Regions from separate parts of the Homo sapiens genome. Here all the other regions are linked to region 2. Evidence: promoter capture Hi-C in 16 types of primary human blood cells and fetal thymus (Javierre and others, 2016). All regions are on one chromosome and are shown on one strand. Each heading gives the region's core, a stretch centred on a gene start or on the middle of the fragment in contact. The rest is flanking DNA. Distances are from core to core; before and after follow the strand shown.

Region 1 (2,892 bases), core at 139-2,638, 260 kb before region 2:
CCCCTCAAAATAAAAGAAAGATGAAAAACATTAAGTACATGTTTCATCAATTTAAAAAACTTTTTCACACGTTAGTACTGCAGAAATTAAGATGCATCTTCTCATCAATAATGTGTCATAGTATAATTGGAAGCATTTTTTTCTTTCTTGGTGGTACAAGAAAAACTGTTCATCTTAAAATGAATGGTTTTTAGATTCAATGAAATATGTTATCTGGTTTCTGCCTCTCTGCTGAAACGGAATGAATATGTTTTCCCTACTTATGTTGCCTTTACCTCCTTTTTCTTGCTTTTAAAATGTATTTTAAAGAGTCTCCTGCTTTTCCCTAATATTTTCATGGTGATGGTTCAAGCTTTGTGTGTGTACGTACATGACTATTTTGCATATATTATGTATATATACAATTCTTTAGCTAGACAAATTATGGAATACACTGAAAGTAAGGAATTTGAAGTTATTATATTGGGGGGGAGAAGACAATAGAGACCTCATATAAGGTTGGGAAACTCATGCAGTAGTGAGATAGTCATGTTTTAGCAATAGCTTGTTGCACAATGACTTGGAGACATTTGCTTTGACATTGACAATGACACAAACATACACATTAAAAACATTCTAGGATATTATAATAATGCCAATTTCCCTAAACTAAACCTTTCTGCCTAAATCTTATTTTTATAATATCAAGTGATATATACTTTTTCTATACCATTGCAGTAAGCAATTATTTTTCTTATTTATTGTTACAACTTGGTGGCTTCGTTTTTGTATGTGTGTCACTTGTATTTCAAAATTATATGCAAATGCTATTGAAATAGAATAAGTCATAGAGAATTATGCTGTATTCTTCTTTTCTTTTCTTTTCTTTTTTTGAGACGGAGTCTCGCTGTCACCAAGGCTGGAGTGCAGTGGCGCGATCTCGGCTCACTGCAGGCTCCGCCCCTCGGGCTTCACGCCATTCTCCTGCCTCAGCCTCCCGAGTAGCTGGGACTACAAGCGCCCGCCACCTCGCCCGGATAATTTTTTTGTATTTTTAGTAGAGCCGGGGTTTCACTGTGTTAGCCAGGATGGTCTCGATCTCCTGACCTCGTGATCCGCCCGCCTCGGCCTCCCAAAGTGCTGTGATTACAGGCGTGAGCCACCGCGCCCGGCCTGCTGTATTTTTCTCTTGTAATTTCTCACTTTTCCTGATACAGTTCAAATAATGTTATTTAAAGGACTGATTAACTGGGAGCATTCATCTCCTCAGCCTGCTTGTAAATAATATAAAAATGCATAATATAAAAATGCACATTTTAGGTAATGAAAATAGATGTACAATATTTTAGGTGTTACTTTCATAATCACATTCTAGCTATTATTGCATGCCTTGACTGAGGTTCAATACAGAATCATCAGCCACTTTCTTATAGAAGAAATAAGTCAATAAGTAACATTATGAAGTTGAACAAATGTGAATAAAGCAGCATTGGTGCATCTAACTTACACTTTATTATTTGGACTAAATTAGGTGAAGTCTATAAAATTTACATTTCTTACTGTGGTAATAGTTTGCAGTTATTCCTTTCTTGGTGCTTCTGATAGTTTATTTTGCGGAACAAACATAACTCTGTTGAATATTGTAACAGATATTCCATATACTTCTTCAAAATGGTCTTCTATTGTCTTTACTCACACTAAAATTACAGTATAGAATTTTTAAATGTGAATATAAATAATTACCCAGTAATTGTCAGATGTATATATATTAAACACATGTATATGTGATCTGTATACACAAACACACACACAAACCATTCATATTTCATGTTGTTCTCATCAAAATTTACAAAGCGGCAATTCACCTGTGTTGAAATCTTAGCAATGGGAATGTTGTTAGTTAAAATTTTAAATCTTCTAGCCTTGTCTTTCCCATTTGACAGTGGTAAGCATAGAGTGTACTGAACTGTATAGACCAGTACAAATCTTCTGAGTCTTTGGGGACTCTTTCTGGCCTGAAATAAAAATGTTTTAGACACAAATGATTCAGCCAGGAATAAACCTCTGCTCCTGAACTTCAATGTCTCATTAATTCTTGAACATTTCAAGGTTTTTAACATCCAAACTCAATAAAAAAGCTGTTATTTTCTGTTATTTTCAGGTCAAGACATAAATGATAATACTAGTTCCAAAGAGCTTTCCAATTTGAAACTATTTATAGTTCAAATTTTTATTTTCATAAGAAATTCTGAATTTCAAATTGCATGATAAATTCACAGGTAATATCTGCTTCACAGATAAGTCATAATACGAGAGGGTTCAGCTTATTGGATGTGATCTTAGCAACTCAGACTGCCTAACACTAAAGCAAACAAAATATGGTTGCAAAATTTGATCCAAAATAAGACGCTTATACAGCTCAAAACATAGTATTCAATGTCAGAGCAAGCTTGGCTCTGGTCTGGCAATTATCAATTTTTGAAATGTATGAGGACAGATAAGGTTACTCCAGTGCTGTAAGTAACAGTCAGCAAGAAGTTCACGTCTAGGAGACTAGGAGTACTTAGAGCTAGGTAAGTTAATGACCGCATTGTAAAGTGTGACAATCTGCTCATTCACTACACAACTCCAGTCTTTGGCTGTGAAGTGTCATCCTTCATACCTTCACTGGCTGAAATGATCCATTCCTCTAGGAGGACACTGACAAGAATTAGGCCATATCAGTCCTAATATCAGATCCTTATTCAAATAGGTTAATACTTAAGCAATCCTCTAGTCCTGGAGGAGACTATGTTAGGGAAAGAAAATGAGTTCTCAAGACTAAGTAGGTATTTCAGGATACCAAAATGCTCAGGTGCTAAGCCCTAATCTCTTGGGAGCCGGAGTTACTGGAAGGCCTTGGAACAAAAGCAC
Region 2 (2,913 bases), core at 393-2,892:
AAAATCACATGTACATTACTTAGTAGGGTTAGCAAAGTCTAACTAATTTATAATACTGGGAAAACAAAGTAGCTTTATCACAGAGTCTGAACTGAGATAATTATAAAATACATACCTAGTCTATACATTGCTTGTAGAAGATTCTCAGTAAAATCTTTCTGATAGAATAAAAATTAAACGCTATCAGTTTCAACATAACAGAAAATTTAAGCTGCGAATGCTCGTAAAGAAATTAGGTAAAAATAATGGAGAACAAAACCCGCAATCGGCTTATCAATCGGCTTACTGTTGACACGCCACGCCACTCAGAATAGTATCTAATTTTCTTGATCCCTTATCTCAGGTAAAGCTATTGACTCGGGGAAATAGGTTATGCGGAAACCATGAAAGTTTCTAGTCTGGCCGACCCTAGGTTCAACACTCTATTATTCCAGACAAGCGATGAGCTCCTGTCGCTAAATTTCAACATCCCTGTCTGTCAAATGGGAATAATAATGATTCTCTCATTGGGTGGCTGTGAGAGGTGAGTGAAACAAGACGGAAATTTGACCCAGGAAATATCTGTACCTCTTACTTTAAAGAACAGAATTAAAAAATAATAATAAATGATCAGAAATTAAGGTAGAATAGAGTGAACACTAATAGCGGGAAATAGCTAATTTGCAGGTGAGGTGGCTGAAAGGCTCCTACGCTTGAAGTGTTTGCTGGATGCACAGGAGATCTGGGATACATCCCGAACTCGGCAACAGGACCAGCTCCTTTCCTCAGGGTTACAGAACAGCCAGGTTCCAGTTCAGGTCTGGGAATCTACCCATCCAGAGTTTGCGCCCTTTTCGTTTTGCAATTTAAAACCGGGTTGGAGGGGGAAGGAGTGAAGGCAGCATGCGGAGAAAGTAAATTACAGTTCAGGTGACAGGAACAAGAAAATCTCCAAGGTCAGGGTGGGGTGTCAACGAATTATGCAAAACACTGCGGAATGAGGAGTCACAAACGCCTTGCAAAGAATTCTGAATTTTAGAAGCTCTTTGCAGAACCCCCTTCAGCCCGCTCCAAGCTGCCTTGGGTCCCTTTCTAGGCTGTCAGACTTCGCCTTCCTTTCCTCCTTGTTTTTCCCAGCAACCAAAGCATCTGAAGAACATTTTTTTCCTCCGTAAATCTGAACAAATTTCCTTGCAGCTTTCCTTGCAGAAGCTTTTTTATCGCTTTAACAAAACTTTCCTCTGCTTCTCTAGGGAGAGCCTAGTATTAGAGCTGCCCGACAGGCGGGACCCCGAAATCGGGGCAGCTCTGGCTTAGTCCAGGCTATTCGAGTGGGCGCCTGAACTGGAGGCGCCGTCTCCACCGGGATGGGGATCCTAGTGCAGGCAGACGCCTGGCAGGACTCGGCGAGCTGGGGTCCCCACCGCGGTAGCCAGAGCAGAAACCCGAACCCCAGCCAGAGGGGCCGCGCGCGGGGAGGGGTGCGCGCTAAGCCAGCGTGGCTTCCGCAGGAGCTATTTTTAGCGGTGCGTGCCTCCCCCCGCCCCCGGCGTGGTAGCCTCCGGCTCGCGGCGCCCCACGGCTCCTCTCAGTCTCCCCCGCCGCTGCCGGCTCTTGGTAGCTTCCACGCGGGCAGGTCCGGAAACTGAGCATGTCTGCAAGCGCTCAGCGGCGCCGGCAGCAGCGGGGCTAGAGCTGGGCTGCGTCAGGCTGAGCCCATTCACCTCGCGGCCACAGGAGCTCAGCGCCGGCGCCGCGCCGCCCAGCCCCGCCGAGAGGGGCGCACTCGCCGCCGCGGGGCCCGCCGCCGCTCACCGCAGCCCCCTCCTGGCGACCCGCAAGTAAGTTTGTGAGGCTGCTGGGCGTTAGGGCGAGGGCTTGGCGCCCGGGGGAGTCCAGGAGGGATAGCGAGAGGCGCGGCTGGCGCCCGGGAGAGCCGGCTGGCCTCTGCCCCCTGTGCCTGGCGCCTCTCCGAGCCACTTAGCCAATTTGAAAGCGGGTGGCCATTGGGATGCTCGAGCGGGGACGACGGGCAGAGCAGGAGGGCAGAACTAGCTCCAGCGGGGGCCCAGAGGGCGGACTTGGGAAGAAGGAAAGACCGCGCGGCGAGGGAGGAGACCGGGCGGCGAGGGAGGAGACCGGGCGGGGAGGCTGGGTTTGGGGCGCGGGAGCCCGGCCAGGGACAGCCGCAGAAGGAAAGTGGGGGTGTCGCCGGGGGATAGAGTGGGAGCAGCGTGAGAGCAGTGTTGGGGGCGCAGAGTGGAGGGCAAGCGTGTCTTGAACAGAACGGCAGGAGGATGGGTGGAAAGTGGGGCGCGTGGAAAGCGGATTTGGACGAGAGCAAAGGACGCCGGTGGAAGGGACAGTGGGCTCCGGAGGGGCGAGTGGATTCGGATAATTTGGGGAATCAGTAAAAGGCTAGGGGGCACATCATGATGGAGTCAGCCTGGAATCTGTCTCCCGCTAGAGTACCCGAGGCCACATGTTGGGAACTGGCTGGGGAAAGGATGGATGTAGAAAGTGGCCTGGAGGGCCGACTGGAAAATCGCTGAGGGATTTGGGTGAAGAGGGGGGGAGCTGTGCAGTATCGGGCGGAGGAACTGGGCTGCTGGTAGGGCCTGAAAGGTTCAGGAGAGGGTTGGAGGCTTCCCCGTGCCGCCCCTTGAATAGTGATTTAGTACTGTTATCTGAGGTTCACTTTCACCCCTGGCTCCTCCTCCGTCTACTACCCGGCTTGGACGCACCTCGGCTCGCTGTAGGCGAGCTTTAGGAGATTTAAATAGACATTAGGCAGTGGGGAAGGTAGTCGTTTACGGGGGGAGCTGCTCGGGCTTCCGTTCAGTGGTTCCCGGCACGCTCAGGGTGCAGTGTAGGGTCTGAATGTGTGTATTGCGGGGGTAGGGGGAGTGGTGTCAGTTCTAGGCCACAGGAATT
Region 3 (3,007 bases), core at 89-2,588, 330 kb before region 2:
CAGTTCTGGCCTCTTTGGTATGAGTTCAAGGCCCATACCCTTTCCACAACTACCATCTAACTTTATATATATATATATATATATATATATATATATATATATATATATATATATATATACATATACATAGATGAAGTCTCGCTCTTGTTGCCCAGGCTGGAGTGCAATGGCGCAATCTCGGCTCAAGCCACTTCTGCCTCCCCGGTTCAAGCAATTATCTTGCCTTAGCCTCCTGAATAGCTGGGATTACAGGTGCCTGCCACCACACCTGGCTAATTTTTGTATTTTTAGTAGAGACGGGGTTTCACCATGTTGGCCAGGCTGGTCTCGAACTCCTGACCTCAGGGGATCTGCCCGCCTCAACCTCCCAAAGTGTTGGGATTAGAGGCATGAGCCACCACACCCAACCTATCTAAATTTTTATAATGTTGAATTGCTTCCAAGTTGAACATGAATATGACAAAGCTCCACTATCTTTCAGTATGCCCTTCTGTGCCCAGCATCAGCTCTAGGAAAAAACTAGTTAGATTAGTTGGCCATTCTACACTTGTTCCTAACATACCTTCCATCTTGCTGCCTACCCCCGTGTCCACACAATTGAGGTTCCCATCTAGTTGCCCACCAGCTTATCTCTACTCCCTTCGTCTTTTCATCCATTGTATATTTCACTTAACTCAAGTCTCCTCTCCACATCCAAATTTGGGGTACTGTGACATTTCAGACAGGGAGAAATTCTTGCACCAAAGGCCTTCTGTTTCCCTATGAGGAGGCTAAATCTGTTGAGCATTATACCTATCATTTCATACATATTTGAACATTAAAACTAATCATCTGTGGGAAATTAAGATTCCTTTTAATAAGGAAACGAAATTTCTGGTAATTCATTAGTTGCCCCAATGTGAAAAACACATCACAATATTTGTTTTAAACTTTCTTGTGTCATCATTTCAGAATTCTATCATTTGGTTTAAATTGTGTTTTGAGCCCATGTGCAATATATTGATATTGGCTAAATTTTTATTATTATCTACACTTTAAAAATGGCCCCCAAAGCTTGCAAACTTTTCTTATGAGAGTCATACTGAGAGGAGAAGACTCAACTTTTTATGCCTATCTTGTACCCTAGATATTTAGATCATTTGTTATCTGTTTTCCCTTGTAAAATATACACTCCATGAGACAGAAATGCTTATGTTTCATTCATGGCAATAAAGTCCAATCCTAAAACAGTGCCTGATACATACGTTTTCAACAAATATTTGTTAAATAAATGAATGTCCCTTGCATCATTTGGCTGTTTCCTAATAAAGCATGGTTTGTTAATATCTTGCCATAATGGCTTTCATCCTCTGGCAGTACATTAGCTTGTCAATCATCTTTTTAAAATGTGGTTACCTTGTTAAAAATGCTGAAGCACATAGAACTGGTTCAAACTTGATGTTAGTTTACCCACGACGTCTCTTCACTAAGAGTTCGTGTTCTGTTTTCATTTAAAATTCTTTTCAAGTATTGGCTGGAATTTGGCCACAAGATGGAGTGGCAGCACAAAGTAGATAGAGTTATTTAAATAGATTTGGCCATCGTTGTTGCAATGAAGTGGCTTGAATGATTATTTTTGTCTTAAAAGCTTGGGGGCATTTTAACTATTTATATTAGTTATCTACTTTAATTTGGTGATCTTTATTTGGTGATCTTCATCCATTGAGAGAAAGAGATGACAACCAAAACCACAAATCCTCTGATCCCAAGAATACACCACTTTATATTTACCTATTGACTTTCTTTACTTACACCTTCATTTTAAAGGATATCTTTTATAGTTTATCACTTGTCATTTTGGTCATGTGTTTAATAACTGGTTAAGCCTCTTAGAGACACTTGAATCAGGAGTCTGGAGATATCGGTAGGGTATATGATCATTTATGTGAAAATCCTACTCCATTTCATCTTATCTCTAATCCCCAATGCTATAGGGTCATCAACTGTCCGTCTCAAAGTCCCAGTAGAACATAATTTGTTCCTGTAGTAATTAAATGAGGACAAAACTCAATATAATGAACACCCGTGCATAAGATAAAATTCATGATTTGGACAGACCTAAAAGAGCCTCTGACTCTTCAATGCACTCGACAGAAATTACTCTGATGTCTTTACTACACTTCAATCAAACCATCGATGGATTTTGTTTACGTCTATGCTGTTTTCATTTTGGCAACTAAACTGTTTGTATCTAATAAAATGAATATAGTCTAGAATTCAGATAAACTTAGCCATCTTCAATTACTAGTTATTTGCTGAAAGCATGTAAATACATATTTTTAGGCCAACTCTTTTTATTTCAAAAGTTTTTATTTCGGCCAGGCGCAGTGGCTCATGCCTGTAATCCCAGCACTTTAGGAGGCCGAGGTGGGTGGATCGCTTGAGGTCAGGAGTTCAAGACCAGCCTGGCCAACATGGCAAAACCCCGTCTCTACTAAAACACAAAAATTAGCTGGGTGTGGTGGCACACGCCTGTAATCCCAGCTACTCAGGAGGCTGAGGCAGGAGAATCACTTGAACTTGGGAGGTGGAGGTTGCAGTGAGCTGAGATCATACCACTGCACTCCAGCCTGGGCAATAGAGCCAGACTCTGTCTCAAAAAAAAAAAAAAAAAAAATTCTTTATTTTAAAATGAGAAAAATTTCTTAGGTGTAAACAGATTACCACAATTTTTGATTTGTCCAACAAAATAAAGAATTAATATTTATTAAGTATTATATAAACACTGTCAATATAACTTAGCTTCAGCATAAAATAACAAAATGTACGATCTTAAAAATAAAAAAGAATTTTTTCACCGTGCTCTTCTAATCTTCACTCTAAAAGAAGCTTATAAAAGGAGAAATAAAAAGACTTGAATTTGTTTTAATTTTTTAGAAAAGTCCTATATTTGGATTTGTCAAAAATTTACCTTTTTATGCAGTCTTATACCTCCAAATGCTAACTTTTTCTTTGAGATATATGAAGA
Region 4 (3,056 bases), core at 272-2,771, 310 kb after region 2:
CATATAATTGAGCCCTCACAATCTGTCTAGTTCTTCAATTCAGTGAGTTTTGGGGTAGTAATGATTGGTTTCAAGTCCAAAAAGTTTCACTGGTCTCATGGCAGCAGAGCAAATGCTTTTATCATCCTAGGCTCACAGCAGAAGCATGTGCATTCTGATTGACCACACACTTCCCGCCAGCTGCATAAAATCACTATTCATGATTTAGATTGGAAAGCATACTGATGGCCAGCATTTTCTTCCTGTGTATGATTGACTGGCAGCTGTGACTCTAAATGCACAGAACTATAGGCATGAGAATAATTTCAACAAGTATCCTTTAAAGCATTATGTCTTTTTTAAACCATCTTAGCCATCTTTAAGTGTATGGTTCAGTAGTGTGAAGAATATTCACATAATAGTAAAAGCCATCTCCAGAACTGTTTTGGTTTTGTGAATCTGAAACTCTATACCCATTAAATCACAACTCTCCTTTTCCCCTCCCTCAATTCTTTTGTTTCTATGAATTTGACCACTTTCTATACCTAAGAAAAGTAGAATCTTACATAGTTATCTTCTTGTGACTAGCTTATTTCACTTTGCCTAATATCCTCAAGGTTCATCCATGTTGTAGTACATGACAGGGTTTTCTTTCTATGACTGAATAATATTTCATTGTACATATATACCACATTTGTATATCTATTCATTCATTGGTGGACAAGTAGTTTGATGCCACTTCTTGGCAATAGTGAATAGTGCTGCTGTGAACATAAATATGCAGATATCTTATAGAAACCTTGCTTTCAATTGTTTGGAATTCATACCAAGAACTGAGATTATCGGATCCTATGGTATTTATTTATTTTTTTAATTTTTTGAGGAAACTCCATACTGTTTCCTATTGTGGTAGCATTATTTTACATCCTACCAATAGTACATGGCAGTTCCAATTTCTCCACATTCTCACCAACACTTGCTATTGTCTGTAAAACATTATATCTTTTTCTTTTTTTAATGATGCAATATAATTTTTATTTCAAGAAATATGTGACTTAAGCTAATATTTTGTGAGCAAAAATGCAGGGCCAATATATTTAAATATTATCCAGCCTTTCAAGTGTGTTCACTTTCAGAAGCTAAATATTTTCCTGAACATTCCTTAAGTAAATGAATGACTTGCTCTTTTGAACCTAAAACACATGCTTGTTTCCTCATTCTTGTGGCTACCACTGTCTTACCCAGCACTAAAAGCTTCTTAAAATTAGTCAGAGGAAGACAAGTGGGAAGGTGTAGACTTCTCACTTCAATAGTCTGCTAAAGATGGAGGAAAAATATGGTGCTATTCAAAGACAGTCTAGACTTAAAGATTTAGAATTTTGGATGGAAATAATCCGGTGAAATAGCAAGAACATTTGAAAGAGAACTTGACAAACCACTGCTGCAGAAAGCTGAATTCCAAGGAAATATGCCCAATATCCATGAAGCTGAGAAGTAAGTTTCTGAAATCATGCCTTTCTATTTTTTTTTAATTTTTCATTTGCCTAAAAAATGTCAACCACTTGTTGAGGCAAGCGGAGTCTTGCTACTGGAATGTATAAATTAACCAAATAGAGTATTATGCAAATAATAGTAGATTCGGATATTTGTTTAGTGGCCCTTTTATGGAGTATTAGAAATTGCCAACTTTTGACTTTGAGAAAAGAATATGTGTGTTGTCAGTAATATTTTGATTCTGTGTTTTTTTTTTAAAAAAAACCTTTTAAACATTTGTCTTATTTCTATTAATGTCACTTGATTTTTCTGGTTTCCAATTCCTGTTTCATTCATAGAAGCTTCTAGAAGTAAATGTCTTTTTTCATTTTAAACATGAACGCAGATGAATAAAATGAACTTCTAATACATTTAATGTCACACTTGAGACAACCATATTGAGATTCTTAAAAAATTGCTTGTATGGAGAAAAGAAGATTATCATTTTCAGGGCCAGGCACAATGGCTCACACCTATAATCCCAACTCTTTGGAAGGCCAAGGCAGACAGATCATCTGAGGTCAGGAGTTCAAGACCAGCCTGACCAACATGGAGAAACCCTGTCTCTATTAAAAATACAAAAATTAGCTGAGTGTGGTGGCAGGTGCTTGTAATCCCAGCTACTAGGGAGGCTGAGACAGGAGAATCGCTTGAACGTGGGAGGTGGAGGTTGCAGTAAACTGAGGTCGCACCACTGCACCACAGCCTGGGCAACAGAATGAGACTCTGTCTCAAAAAAAAAAAAAAAAAAAAACCTAAAAAACAACAACAACAAAAAGAAAATTATCATTTTCTAGCCAGTGACTAGTAAATTTTCTAAACCTATCAGATAATTTATAACAATAATGGATTTAAAAAACAAGCAAGACAGATTTTTTTCTATTGACATATATATATATATATATATATATATGAAGGAACATATATATATATATGAAGGTAAATACTGATCAAAATTCAAAATCCAGGGCAGCTCACTTGGAGAGAAATAAAAATAACAAAGACCTATTAGGTAAAACAAGATTATTTGGAACTATAGGAGTAAGAGTTAAGAATAAACTAAAAACAAAGCACTTGTTCTTTGTGGCAGCTGAAAATAGCAAACCTGGGGACAACAAGGTTTTTCTTCCCATATTCTCTATGCTGGTTAGCTGGCATGATGACTAAAACAGAATTGTGCCTGCCATTGTAGAGCTTACAATTATTTCTTCTTGGTGGTAGTATTCCACAATGGAGAGCGTTAAATAAAAGTAGGCAGTCTTTTACAACATTTTAATTTAGTCTTTGTTAATGTTAAAGAGACAAATTCCTTATTGAGTTTCTGAGCAAAGCTTAATAATAATGAAGTTAGAGGAAAAACACCCACCACATTTTATAAAGTAGTGAAAAAAGCTTATTAAGCCACAGAAGTGTTGTTTTTCCTCTTTTTAGAAAATAACCACTAAAGCTTATCACTTGACAAGCAGGCTTATTTTACAAAGAACTTACTAATTTATAAAATAATAAGACTTTGGAGAAGCATCTTCCTTATCAATTGTCTTATA
Region 5 (3,260 bases), core at 554-3,053, 260 kb after region 2:
TTTAATATACAGATTGTCAGTCTTTTAGGTGACTAACATATTGAATTTACTAAATTTAATAAATGCTTATAACATTTTTATAGAGTGAGTGGAATTAAGTCTCTGGAAGTTAAATGACTTATTCATGGTCCTACTGTAAATAGTTTCAAAGCCAAGGGAACAATCTAAGTAAAATGGCCAGTGGTAAAGAGCTCATCCTCTACATTGATTTTCAGATCAAATTCTCTTTTCAAAAACAAAAATGAAATTAGATCATTGATGGAGATCTCATTGAGTGGTTCCCCAAGTGCTAGTCTATACCATTGATGGTGAAAACGATGCAATAATAAAAGAACAGTAGTTTTTCATAAGACGATACTTAGTTGAAGTGACTGTCCTTTCCATTTTTTCTTTCTTTTTTCCTCTTTTGTCCCCTCCCTCTTTCCTTTCTTTCTCCCTTCTGCTCTTTCTTCCACCCTGTTTCCTCTCTTTTTCCTTCTTTCCTTCCCTCCTTGTGTTAAAATGAATGGTCTTTTGTGAAATGACTGCTTAGTTATGGTATCAGTTTAGGATATTTGTTTAAGTCTGTTCTTTTAAAATTATTTTACTTGTCAAAATATTAAGTTGGGAAATGGTCCCTAAAATATTCTCTTAAAATTGTGATGGTCTGTGAAATTGCAAATTCTAAAATCCAATGCAATGATCCTGTCTTTTGCCCTGCTTGCAGGATAGAATACCTTCAACATTCCAAACTTAACGATGCACAGTTAAATACAAATTTGTATCTTACTAACCCCAGGCTGCTTACATATTGAAAAGAGAGCCTATGGAATTAGGGGTTCCCTGGGAATTCTTCTCAGTAGTAGGCAAAATTAAAACAGTAATAACTAGTTTGGAAGCTCTGAAGAGAAAAGCAAGACACATATTTAACTGCTTTTTAATTGCAGTACACCAGACACTTTAAAATATCATCACATAACTTGTACGCCTCTCATTTAATAAAAAAGATAACCCTAAAGTAACAATACTATAACAGGAGGTTAAAAAATAAAAGGAAAAAACTAATCTTGCTAGAGGTGGCACATTCTGCAGTGTGAAACTAGGTCACCACTGACCTGGAACGTTCTCTCCAAGTTAGAAGATTCTTCATGGAAAAGCAGGAAGTCTCTGTGATTTAATCAACAGAACTATCTTGGCATGCAGGTCACTGTCTATAAGCACAGAAACTAAAACACATAGCTGCTCTGAGGATTCCAATTAAATTAAATTCTTGAGAACTATGACTTTGTTTGAATTGAAATTTGTTTTGACAGTTTGATGGCTTTTTACATTTTCTGGATCACAAAAATTTTTAGGGAAAATTATTTCATTTGCTGAGGTTTCTTGTTACACATGGAAGCTAAAAGTCCCTAAGTGGACCTGGGCATTTCACAGCTTTTGAAGAGTGGTTCAAAGTTTGTGTAAGTAGCCAATATGGAATTTTTTTTTATCAAGATAGTGGAATTTGAGGATATCAAGATTTCAAGTTTAGTTTTTTGGTTCATTTGTGGATTAATAAGACCATGGGATTCAATATATGTTTCTGACAGTCTACATCTCCATGTGCATGTTTGTTGGGGGCGATATTTGATTGGGATTTTATTTTACAACATTTTTCATTTATTTCATTTAATATCTACTTTAAAACATGAGATTAAGGAAATCCCACAAGCTGAAACTACTTTCAACTCTAAAATTAATATGAAAGCTTTATTTCTTTCAAGATAAATTAGATTTTTTTTAACCAATCATTTATGTAATTTTAACTAAAATTTACCAAGGAACCGGAGGTATTCTCAGAATGAGAAAAAATATGTTTGCTTGATATTCCTATAAATTTGTAGTGCCTATAATTTGTTAAATAAGCTTGCCAACTCTAGTTTTATAGCATTAGTACCTTATTTTATAGATTTGCTTTATTCTTTTTTGCCCTGATTCTGTGATTGTTCTCTGTCAGAAGTAATCAACCCAGAATCAAGAAACACAGCTTAATCATGGCCATGATAAACAGATTAAGAAATGTCAGTAACCCTGAGGTCTCCTTGAGCAAATGGTTTTGGTATTATGTCTGAGCTACAGCCTAATAGTCTTATAACTTATTCAAAAACAAATTATATCTGTCAATTTATTTAATGATTTCTAAACTGCCCAATTAAACCTATACTGGTTTAATTTATGGAATAATTAAAATGGACATTGTTCATGGTTGAGAAATAAGCATGATCCTGTTTGAAATTTCCTAAATCACTATTAAAATTAGTCTTTCACTGCTGTTAGCAAACAAAACTTGCCCTTTTAACCTGCTAACACGTCTATGAACATCCCATTTCACTGAATAATGGTGAGGGGAAGAAAATGACAAATTATTAAGCAAGACCTACTCTATTTTAAACATTTATAGATAGAACTAATGGCGATTTGAACAGTGAAGTAATATGTCTACATTTCCCAATGTTTTCATTTTTTTAGGAGTATGAATTTAAAGAGCTTCTAGGATCTTGCTCACATTCAGAAATGAAACTATTGGTATCTCCTGATTTTTTTTAATTTGCTTTTCTTCCCACGTTGTACCTAAGGATATATATTTTCTTATTTGTTTTTTCTTCTTTTATGAGATGAAGTCTCAGTGTCATCCAGGTTGGAGAGCAGTGGTACGATCATAGCTCACTACAGCCTTGAATTCCTGGGCGCAAGTCAGCCTTCTGCCTCCAGGGTAGCTGGGATTACAGGTGTGCATAACCGTACCGAGTCAAGATATTTCTTTACATGTAAAAATACTACAGGATTTATGCTGGTCAATGAAATTTTGACCATGTTAACAGTTATGACTGAAAGAATATTACTTATGAGAATGGAAAAATAGGTAAAAACCAGACACAACTGGGGGGAGAATCTTCTATTGCTGTTTCTACCAAAGTTTTGAAACTACTTTTACTATAGTTAAAAACTGTGAATTCAACTGAAGATTATAAATGTTACAGTGACCATTCATGATACATTCCCTATATATTATGTGTACATCTACATAGAAGCAAGCTATTAGTAAACAGCTTTAAAATTCACTAACTGAAATTTTGTGATCATCTGAACAAACTGAGATAAAAAGTCTTTGTGTTAGTACAATATGAAAAAAAAATCTATGTGGGTTTATAACTGAAACATGATTTCAGGACACAGAAGATATTAGGTTCAGCAATTTAGCTTAGAAAACTGCTTTTTGGTAGGGAAAAATATGTACTAAG
Region 6 (3,146 bases), core at 382-2,881, 290 kb after region 2:
ATATTTTGGAACTGGATAGAGGTGGTGGTTGCACAATGTTACAAATGCACTAAATTCCACTGAAGTGTCCACTTTACAATAATTTTATGTTATGCACATTTTGCCTTACTAATAATAATTTTTAAAAGTTCCTTATGATGTCATCAGAGAGAGATGTGGGACAGTAAGTGGGTACTTGAGATTGGGCCATCAAGGAAAGCATCTCCAAGGAAATTGCTTTTAATTTAAGACCTAAATGATAAGAAGCCAGTCATGTAAACATCAAGAAGTAGAGAATCCCAAATGAATCCTGCCTCTGCCTTTATTGTGTGTGTGTGAGCTGGGTGGAATACTTAATATCTCTCAGCCTCATTTGCTTCATCTGGGAAACAGGATTATAGAAAGATCTAATTCACAAATTGTTCTAATTAAATGAGATCATGCACAGAAAGATGAGCTTAGTAGGAAGTCATATGTCCTTAAGAATCAAAAGGCAAAAAAGGAATTGAAAACTCACTCCAGCAAAAGCTGATCAGAAGCCCCTTGTTATGCAAGATGACCAGCTAATGCCAAGTCTGTTTTACATAATCTTTCCTCACTGATTATGTAATGATTCTGCTGGTGTTGCTTCACAGTCACTTTTCTGTGTATATGTTTCACCACTAAATGTTCTTTCTAACTCACTGTGTTTCCTAACAGCTAGTCTGAGCTTTCCTCCCATAGCTTTGAGCCGTGGCTTCTTGCTCTCATCATCCAAGACTGAGCAATTCCCTTCCCTCATTAATTTTGTAACCTTGAAGATATTTACGCAGTTTGAACAAATACTCACCTGCAGTTTTCTTTTTTCCCCAAACTCTTATATGAATCTAATTCTTTCTTTTTCTTCTCACACATAATATACAAACTCAAATTCCTTTCTCCCTTTGTGTTTGCTCTAATTGTGGTTAATAAAACATTTCCTACATTGAGCCCTTCCAATTAATTAAGATTATTTTCCTGTTCTAATTGAGGAAATATACCTGAAAAGCTGATCAACAGGATTTAAAGACATCTTTCCACTTTATTGGTACTTAAAACCATTTTCATTTCTTGCTATTCTTTTTAAGGTAAGCTGAAGCATAGGAAATAATTCCATACATAGCTGTAAGGTAATGTTCAGGTTAAAATGAAATTTTAATTATGTAAATCATATAGTTTGGGGTTATGTTATTCATAGAGTTCTAGACTAAAGTTTTTCCTCAATAATGTTGGTGATTGACAGGCAACTCAGGTGAGTAGCATTTCCTAAGCTTGTATATCTGAGCTACAAAATTCTATACCCATAAATTAGCAGAAAGCATGGTAAAACTACTGTTTTTTAGAATTCTACTTTTTTTTTTTTAAATTAGGAATAACTTTACTGCAAGGCAACTCAATTTTTTTTTCCTAGATTCCACATGTTGAATTCATCACATAGGATACTCTGGCAACAAAAAGGAATATTGGGACTTAGCATTTATTCGCTCTCTCTGCAGGCACCTAATGATGAATTTAGCTAAAATGCTGCAAGAACAAGCCCTTACAGTTGTACATAAAATCTGCTGTCCTATGCAGGGTTAAAGGCCACACATGTTGGTAACAGAATTTTTCTCTCAGAAGTGGGTTCTTTGTTGAGACTTGCCTTGTTCCTTTTGTTTTTATTTTTAAGAAGAGACTTCCATCTCAATAAAGAAGGAAAAATCAATAAGTGATAATTTAAACATAACTCAGAAACTGAATTGAAAACTGAAGATATATGAGCAAAGCAAAGTATATTACATTTTACTGTGATTGTTAATCTCTATGATTTGAAGTCAGACTGGCTTTGAACTTCCGCTTTACCACTGAGTAGATTTTTTTAACTTGGAAGAAGTCATTTTATCTCTCTAAACTTCCATTTCACCATGTACAGAGTGGGCGTAACAATCATGGCTTCACAGAGTTACTGTGAGAATCACATGAGTAATGAACTCCTAATTCTAGGACATATGCATAGGAAAAGCTTCCCTCTTGAAGAGGCTACTCTGGGGAGTAAAAGCACATAGCCTTTTCGTATTGCTATGTACCAAAGCAGCCCAAAAGCCAGCAGCTTAAAACAACAACCATTTATCAAACTCAGAATTCTATGAGCTGGCAATTCCAAAGCCACTGCCCTGGTACAGAATCACCACCCTGGATTCCCCCTGCCAGGTGATTGACAGTCCTCTAGTTCCTAGATAATCAGGTGGCCTGGTAGGCCAAATGGAGGATCCGGGACAGCAAGGGAGAGGGCCATTGGAAGGCTAAGGCAGCAGCTATATATTAGCCAGTACAAAGTATTCTGATACACAATGGTTAAATGTTGGCTATGTTAGCCCTGTCCCATTCATATTACAATCCTTTTCCTGTCCAGGTTGCCCCAAGCATCTTGATATCTTATTAATATACCCATAAAATAGCAGAAATCACAGTAAAACTACTGTTTTGTGGAATTCTACTTTTTTTATTAGGAACAACCTTATTGCAAGACAACCGAAAATCTTTTCCAAAATCATAAGATGATGAATTCAACAAGTGAGATGAATCACATAGGATGTGAGGGCCCAATTAGCATTGGTATTCCCTATATCTTCACAACAAGTATACTGCTTATATCCATGTGTCTGTCCATCCCTCCTACCCTAAATGCCAATAAACCCACATCAAGAACAAGCACACATTATATACATACTTCTTGGAAATAGGGCAACAATTCTTAGGAGAAAAGGTGGTAGTGATGGTGTCTTTTCCTGAGAATTTTCCAAATCTTTAAGTTGGCTTCCCTTTTGATTATAAATTTCACCTTTAATTCATTTTTATTTTCTTGCATTTTTCTATAATCAGTGAAGAGAAACCATGCCACGCTCTCAACACTTTACTTAGATATTTATTCTCTGAAATACCCCATTTAATCACTCAGAAGTTCTATCCTCCACAAAACACTGGGACACGAACACAATTCAGCCAGGTTCTTTGTCACTTTATAACAAGGATGGACTTTCCTCCAGCTTCCAGTAGCATGTTCCTCATTTCCATCTGAGATTTCATCAGAATGGCATGTACTGTCCATATTTCTAACAACATTCTGATCACAGTCACACAGGTAATCTCTAAGAAGATTGAGGCTTTCT

What was found. The method cuts DNA at HindIII sites, captures the fragments that hold promoters and counts their contacts. A CHiCAGO score of 5 or more calls a contact.
Region 1: a fragment that was not itself captured here is called in contact with the fragment with the promoter of OXR1 in region 2 in 1 of 17 cell types (endothelial precursors); the score reaches 7.6 in endothelial precursors.
Region 3: a contact is called between a fragment that was not itself captured here and the fragment with the promoter of OXR1 in region 2, in 1 of 17 cell types (endothelial precursors). The highest score is 6.6, in endothelial precursors.
Region 4: a fragment that was not itself captured here is called in contact with the fragment with the promoter of OXR1 in region 2 in 4 of 17 cell types (endothelial precursors, monocytes, M1 macrophages and 1 more); the score reaches 6.6 in endothelial precursors.
Region 5: a fragment that was not itself captured here is called in contact with the fragment with the promoter of OXR1 in region 2 in 2 of 17 cell types (megakaryocytes and endothelial precursors); the score reaches 9.1 in megakaryocytes.
Region 6: a fragment that was not itself captured here is called in contact with the fragment with the promoter of OXR1 in region 2 in 1 of 17 cell types (monocytes); the score reaches 5.1 in monocytes.

The regions. Positions count from the first base shown.
Region 1 is chr8:106,006,130-106,009,021 of GRCh38, forward strand. The region is part of intron 1 of ZFPM2-AS1 (ZFPM2 antisense RNA 1); the gene reads right to left. Among named protein-coding and RNA genes, the nearest start is that of ZFPM2-AS1, 53 kb to the right of the region's middle. The HindIII fragment of the contact is 2,076 bases long and covers 351-2,426 here.
Region 2 is chr8:106,268,548-106,271,460 of GRCh38, forward strand. It overlaps OXR1 (oxidation resistance 1), which reads left to right and starts at 1,643. Exons shown (of 17, transcript NM_001198533.2): 1 at 1,643-1,820. RefSeq lists silencers at 1,368-1,617, 1,638-1,997. The HindIII fragment of the contact is 2,469 bases long and covers 1,190-2,913 here.
Region 3 is chr8:105,938,629-105,941,635 of GRCh38, forward strand. All of the region lies in intron 1 of ZFPM2-AS1 (ZFPM2 antisense RNA 1), which reads right to left. Among named protein-coding and RNA genes, the nearest start is that of ZFPM2-AS1, 120 kb to the right of the region's middle. The HindIII fragment of the contact is 574 bases long and covers 1,052-1,625 here.
Region 4 is chr8:106,579,779-106,582,834 of GRCh38, forward strand. All of the region lies in intron 3 of OXR1 (oxidation resistance 1), which reads left to right. The region is part of intron 1 of OXR1-AS1 (OXR1 antisense RNA 1); the gene reads right to left. Among named protein-coding and RNA genes, the nearest start is that of OXR1-AS1, 76 kb to the right of the region's middle. The HindIII fragment of the contact is 581 bases long and covers 1,232-1,812 here.
Region 5 is chr8:106,527,688-106,530,947 of GRCh38, forward strand. The region is part of intron 3 of OXR1 (oxidation resistance 1); the gene reads left to right. The region is part of intron 1 of OXR1-AS1 (OXR1 antisense RNA 1); the gene reads right to left. Among named protein-coding and RNA genes, the nearest start is that of OXR1-AS1, 130 kb to the right of the region's middle. The HindIII fragment of the contact is 158 bases long and covers 1,725-1,882 here.
Region 6 is chr8:106,556,203-106,559,348 of GRCh38, forward strand. All of the region lies in intron 3 of OXR1 (oxidation resistance 1), which reads left to right. The region is part of intron 1 of OXR1-AS1 (OXR1 antisense RNA 1); the gene reads right to left. Among named protein-coding and RNA genes, the nearest start is that of OXR1-AS1, 100 kb to the right of the region's middle. The HindIII fragment of the contact is 731 bases long and covers 1,267-1,997 here.